Regions from separate parts of the Homo sapiens genome. Here region 1 is linked to region 2. Evidence: promoter capture Hi-C in 16 types of primary human blood cells and fetal thymus (Javierre and others, 2016). All regions are on one chromosome and are shown on one strand. Each heading gives the region's core, a stretch centred on a gene start or on the middle of the fragment in contact. The rest is flanking DNA. Distances are from core to core; before and after follow the strand shown.

What was found. The method cuts DNA at HindIII sites, captures the fragments that hold promoters and counts their contacts. A CHiCAGO score of 5 or more calls a contact.
Region 1: a contact is called between the fragment with the promoter of RARS1 here and the fragment with the promoter of SAP30L-AS1 in region 2, in 5 of 17 cell types (non-activated CD4 T cells, fetal thymus, monocytes and 2 more). The highest score is 11.6, in non-activated CD4 T cells.

Annotation. Positions count from the first base shown.
Region 1 is chr5:168,485,156-168,488,429 of GRCh38, reverse strand. RARS1 (arginyl-tRNA synthetase 1) reads right to left here and starts at 1,959. Exons shown (of 15, transcript NM_002887.4): 1 at 1,887-1,959. The coding sequence starts at 1,931. The HindIII fragment of the contact is 3,317 bases long and covers 684-3,274 here.
Region 2 is chr5:154,443,751-154,447,089 of GRCh38, reverse strand. It overlaps SAP30L-AS1 (SAP30L and GALNT10 antisense RNA 1), which reads left to right and starts at 1,268. Exons shown (of 3, transcript NR_037897.1): 1 at 1,268-1,352. It overlaps SAP30L (SAP30 like), which reads right to left and starts at 1,093. Exons shown (of 4, transcript NM_024632.6): 1 at 285-1,093. The coding sequence starts at 485. RefSeq lists silencers at 450-559, 690-1,219 and enhancers at 796-1,296, 1,350-1,469. The HindIII fragment of the contact is 8,481 bases long and covers 1-3,339 here.

The DNA.
Region 1 (3,274 bases), core at 710-3,209, about 14 Mb before region 2:
TTGGCCAGGCATGGTGGCTCACGCCTGTAATCCCAGCACTTTGGGAGGCCTAGGCAGGTGGATGACTTGAGGCCAAGAGTTCAAGACCAGCATGGCAAACATAGCGAAACGCTGTCTCTACTAAAAATACAAAAATTAGCTAGGCATGGTGGCGCATGCCTGTAATCCTAGCTACTTGGGAGGCTGAGGCAGGAGAATTGCCTGAATCCCAGAGGCTGAGGTTGCGGTGAGTCGAGATCGTGCCACTGCACTCCAGTCTGCTTGACAGAGCGAGACTCTGTTTCAAAAAAAAAGAAAAAGAAAAAGAATATATTAACCACACATACATGTGTTTTGGGAGACAGGAATCGGAGTAAGTATATAATGGGATATGCCTCATGTCTCATATCCCTAGTTCTTTTCTTTGGCTCGATAAACACTCTGATTTAGCAAGAGTAGTTAAGTTTCAGGTTGACCAACCTGCTTTTATTCCCAAATCCTATGACCTGGGACTCTTAAAAAACCCAAATGTCCTTTGTCACATTCAAAATAGCTCAAGGGTCTGCCTTTCACCCTTTCTGGGACTAAACAATTTTCCCATTTCTTCCTGTTTCCAGTGTCTTAGGTCCTAGACTAGACCAGACCAGGCTTTGTAGTTTAACATCTAAAACTAAAGACATGTCAATTCAGAAAGAAATAAAGCTTCCAACTTAAACTGCAAAACTCAGGGGGAGTTCCTCACCTGAAATTTCAGAATACTTACTGGGAGATAGCTACAGCCAAAACCAAATTGCCAAAAATGAGCATACATTATGTTCCAGGAGCTGAGCTAAAAACACTTTTCAGAAATTACCTTCATGATTATCACAACCAAGTGAGGCAAAGATAAATACATACCGATAAATAAATGGCTCAGAAATGTAAAGAGCTTGCCAATTTACTTGACTAACTTGTACTTTGTGACTGCTGATTAAGTATACAGCCGTAACAGGACAGAGTACTGTGAACTATCTTCCTACCATCCCTCCCCACCTGGGCATAAAAGGTAATGGAACTGTTCCGCTTTCACTTTTTTTTTTTGTAGGGGGACGGAGTCTCACTCTGTCGCCCAGGCTGTGGTGCAGTGGTGTGCTCTCTGCTCACTGCAAGCTCCGCCTCCCGGGTTCACGCCATTCTCCTGCCTCAGCCTCCCGAGTAGCTAGGAATACAGGGACCCCCCCCAACACAGCCGGTTAAGTTTTTTTGTATTTTCAGTAGAGACGGAGTTTCACTGTGTTAGCCAGGATGGTCTCGATCTCCTGACATCGTGATCCGCCCACCTCGGCCTCCCAAAGTGCTGGGATTACAGGCATGAGCCACCGCGCCCGGCCGCTTTCACTTTTATATGGTGTGGCTGCTCCTTCCCGACGAATGCTGAGGGCACAGAGCAAGCTCCGCTGGTCTGATAATGAATCACCCCATGGGCTTATTAGGAATCCTCTCGCTCAGTAACCCGGGAAGAACTGCGGCTGAGCTGCAAACCAAGACCCAGAGCTCTGAATGTATTCCCCCCTTGTCTATCTCCCCGCATCCCCTAAATCGCGTGTGTATGCAGAAGAGGAGGTGGATTGTAGGGAGAGAACTGTTCTGAACATGCCAGGCTCCAGCCCACCGAAGACGCTGGTTTGGGGGAGGCCTGGGAGAGGGTGGGGACCCTCCATTCCGCTGAAAATCACAGTCACACGGGCTTTGAAATGATGGGTGCTTCCTCTCTCAACCCTTCCTGTTCCCACAGGGACCGTGCCGCTCCACTCTGAGAGGACCAGGATGGTCCTCGCCTAGCTGTCCCGCCCCCGAAGCCGCTTGGGCAGGAGTCAGAGCCTGCTCCATCTCTTTCAGGCCTTCCCGCCGGTCTCCTGCGTCCAAACCTGCTGCAGCAGCCGCGCGGAGCACTCAGACACCAGTACGTCCATCCTCCCATCAGCGTCTCACTCGCCAAGTGGACGGAAGCGGAAACGGTCAGCCTCTCCCGGAAGCGGAAACCCCCTCCGGTCCGCTGTCCCGTCGGACTGGGTGCTGGCGCCTCTGCTGCCTCCTGGCGGGATCCAGTAGACACTGCGAGGAGAACCCGCGGGGATTTCGGTCAGGAGCGAGGCCGCAACTCAGGGACGTTTGGGCGAGGGGAGAGGAATTGAGCAGACACTAACCAGAGCTGCTCTGTGCTTGGATAGACTAGGACAGTCACTGACCTAGAGCTTCTGGCTCTCAAAGGCCTCACTTTGCCCCTTTGTGAAATGGGCACAAAACTAACAAATCCATTCATTTATTCAACAAACATTTATTGTGTACTTTAAAATGCCAGACAGTATTCTAGGCTCTGGGGGCACAAAGAAAACAAAACAGACACGATCTCCCCTCTCACGGCAGACACATTTTAGAATGGAGAGAGAAAATAGACCAAAAAAGGCAATAATCTCAGGTAGTTTTAATTGCTAGGAAGGCAATGTGATAGAGTGACTTGGGTGAGAGAAGACATCTCTAAGCAAGTGACATTTGAGTTAAAATCTTATTTATTTTTCCAGTTTTATTGAGGTATAATTGACAAAGATTGTATATCATAACGATGTACAACGTAATGTTTTGATATATGTATACATTCTGAAATGATTACCACAACCAAAATAATTAACATAACCTTCATCTCATACAGTTATCATTTGCATGTGTGTGTGTGTGTGTGTGTGCGCGCGCGCGCGCGCGCGTGTGTGCTGTGAACATTTAAGATCTATTCTCATCCTGGGAAACAGCTAAGACCTCGTCTCTACAAAAAAATGGAAAAATAGCCGGGCATGGTGGCATGTGCCTGTAGTCCCTGGTATATAGGAGGCTGAGGTGGGAGGATCACTTGAGCCCAAGAATTTGAGGCTGCGGTGAGCCATGATCATGCCACTGTACTCTGCCTGGATGACAGAGTGAGACCTTTTCTCTCTCTATTTAAAAACAAACAAAACGAAACGAAAACGAAAACTGCAAGTATACAATATACATTACATCTCTAGAATCTATTCATCCCGCCTAACTGAAACTTTGTAACTTTGAGCAACATCTCCCATCTTTCCTACCTCTGAAGCCCTGACAACCACCATTCTATGCTCTGCTTCTATGAATCTGAATTTTTTAGATTACACATATACATGGGCTAATGTAGTATTTGTCTTTCTGTGCCCGGCTTATTGCACCAACATAATGTTCTCCAGGTTCATCTATGTTGTCACCCATAACAGGGTTTTCTTTTATAAGGCTGAATAATATTTCA
Region 2 (3,339 bases), core at 19-2,518:
CTAAAGTCTAAACCAATAAAACAAGTTGGAAACTGCTGTCCAATCTTTCCAGGCAGCAGGAGTCCTGAAGCCCCCGCCCCCATCCTCCCGGATCTGGGTAGAATCACAGTCAGAGCATGTCAGCGCTGGAGCGGCCTTTGAAATGCGGAGTCCAACTCAGTTCTGCAGAGCCGGGGCGGCGAGGCCCACGGCGGGGAGTGCCCGGGGAGTCCCGACTGGAGCCCAGGGCAGCGGACGGAGAGCTGGGGGCGCCGGGGCCCAGACGCGAGCGGGGGCGGACTCACGCTCTTGTCGATGTCCAGCTTGAGTTTCTTCTGCGAGATGCTCTTCTGGACCCTCTTGCTGAAGGAGGCGTTGCCCGCGGGCCGGACGCAGCGCTCGCCGTCCTCGATGAGGCAGCAGCTCTGGCCGTAGCCCGGGGCGGCGGCAGCTGGGGCGGCGGGGGGCCCTTCGCGGCTGTCCTCCTCCGTGCTGAAGCCGTTCATCTCCCCGCCCCGGGCCGGTCCCTCTGGGGGAGGGTCCCCGGTAGGCCACTCCGCGGCCGCGCTTGCCGCGGGGCAGGTCGCTGAGACCCCCGCAGCCGAGGGTCCCAGAGTCCGTCTCCAGCCCGGGCGCTGCCCTGCCCCGCGTCCGAGAGGCCCGGCTCCCTCGGCCCCCGGCCCTCCGCCTCCGGAAGCCCCCTTCCTCCCGGCTCGAGGCCCCGGGGTCGGCTCCCGCGGCTCGCAGGGCCCCGCCGGGGGTCACCCGGAGGAGCCTTCTGCCGGGGGCCCAGAACCGTAACCCTGCAGCGGGGGTGTCCGGGAGGGCGTCCCAGGAAACAGCCGCTCCCCAAGGACTCCGGGCCTGGGTTGCCAGGGGGTTTCGAAGGCCCCTGCCGGCTCCCGCCTTCTTTCGGCAGCGGGGCAAACTCGCTGCCGGGCAGCTCCCCCGGGGTGGCGCGGCCTCCTCGCGCGGGGCCCGGCCTCGAACCCGCGGCACCCGGGCCCCGCGGCTCGTCCGGCCCACTCCACCCCTGCAGCCACTCGGCTGCGCCCCGAGTCCCGCGGCAGCCCCTGGGCCGCCCGGCCGCCGCCCGCCGAACGCTCCGCACCACAACAGTTCGCTCCCCCCGCCCTTCGCGGGACAGCGGAAGTCCCGCCTTCACGCGACCATTGGTCTCATTTGCTCTCTGGGCGGGGCTGCCGCCGCCGCTGGCGCGTCCCATTGGGCGTCGCCGCCGCCAGTCTCCGGCGCCAGGCTACTTCCTGGACTCTGCTGGGATGGGTTCAAAGTAGAGAAAGTGGAAGAGGAAAGAGTTACCCCAGCGAGAACCGGGAACCGGGCTGCAGACTCTCCGGCCCGGGGGAGGGATGGTGAGCAGGGGCCTGGCTGGACCGAGGGCCAGACTCCAGGAACAGAGGAACACATTCGGGGACAGACAGTAGAGACGCGGACGGGGACGCTGAGGGACAGACTTGGAGGAGGGGCATATGAGGGGACCTAAAGAGGATAGAGGTGCTATCAGGAGAGGGGCGGACTAATAAAATGAAAGGGCCAGGGCCAGAGGACTCGCGGATCCGTGGGAGGAAGGGTGGGTGAAATAGGACGGAAAGCCAGTCATGGCGGGAAAGACAGAGGGACAACCCCATACAGATACGTGGAAAGACATGCGGAGGAGGTGATGGGGGGATCTTGCAAGGCAGTCGCAATATTGGGGGTAGCCGATACCTTCCAGAGTGTGGAGAGTGGGACTGGCTTGGACGGCGCGGAAAGAAAAGGAGAGGGGGAAAGGAGACCCCGAGGGGTTTGGGCGACCCCTCCACTGGGAAGAATGGGAAGTCCGAATGAGGTCTGGAGGGTGGACTAGGTGAGCCGCGGGCAAGAGAAAGGGCTTCAGGGGAGATGAAGTGAAGGCTGGGAGTGGGGCCCAGGGGCCAATCTCGGAATCTAGATGGGGAAGGGCTGCGGTGTCTTGGGCTCTCCCTGGAGCTCCAAGCTGTAGTTCTATTGCTTTGAGTCCCCGGGTCTACCGGCGAAGCGACTGCGCCCTGCCAAGACCCTGCGCTTGGTTTCGGCGCCCAGGGCACCACCTCCCCTCCAGGAGGGGCCGTAGGATATGCTCTGGTCCAGCACTTCAGTCATGCCACTCTCCAACTGCGCAGCATGGGGACTGATGAGGTCCGAAAGGCGATGGGACCAGCCCAGGGTCGTGTAATTATGTAGGGCTGGGCAGCGTTTTATGGGCAGGGAAGAGGGGAGGCTGTGTTAGGTGATAGGTAAGCAAGTGTTAGTACTAGAGGGCATAGAAGGAGCTTCGGGTTTGTGTCCTGTTGTAAAAGGGAAAGCTACCAGTTTCCATGTTTAGAAGCAGGTGGCTGGTGATCTTAAGTTTTGCTCAGTGGCCATAAATGCATTTGTAGCATCTGAACTGGTAATTTCACACGTGGGACAGCCATCGTCGGAAATAGGCCTATCAGAGATAATATGAAGTACAGTGATGTTCATTATGGAATTATTTATAATAGGAAAAATAAAATAGAACCTCAGAGTTCCAAAAGGGAAGTGGTTAAGTAAACTACCTAAAATCTTCAGAAAGAGATTGTGCAGTTAGCATTTGAGGTAGTTTCAACATCAATGTAAACATTTTCTATAGAGAATAATTCACCATTAATTCTTAAATAAAGAGCTGATGAGGAGTTGGAGAAATGCTTTTTTTATGATAAGTAAAAAAATTCAGGATATGAAATTGCATGGAGGATACGATGTCTGTACATCTATGTTTAAAGAAAAAAGAAAACTATTGGTATAAAAAATGCACCAAAGTACTAACAGTGATTATTTCTGGGTAGCAGGAATATGGCTGATATTTTTCTCCTTTTGTTTAACCTTTGCATTTTCTTTAATAAGCATTATTTTTGTTTTTACAGTAGAAAAAATAGAATAAAAATTAATGGAAAAAAGGCACAGATTAATAGGAGTCTTCCCTCAGAGTTCATATATTCTGTTCAAAAGTAAATTGTTGTTGAACTCATTATGTATACCAAGTATAGGGTTGGCTATAGGAGGAGGATGAAACATAACCCTTGCCCTAAAAGAATATCTCCTATCTGGGGTGTTCAGACATATATGTAGAAAACACTTGGGTATCTGTACCAGGCACTGTGTGATGTTGGGTCCAAAGTCAGTTGGTATGGATGAAACCTCCATGTTCCCCATATTTTTCTAAACAGCATTTGTATTCAATGCTAGGCTATTGCGGTACACAACTTCTTCTGCACCAACTTGCCCTGGTCTAAGGGGATCTAGGACCTTTTCTTAGGTGCTCTGTCTCAGTCCTTGAGGTAGTGGCTACTTATATCT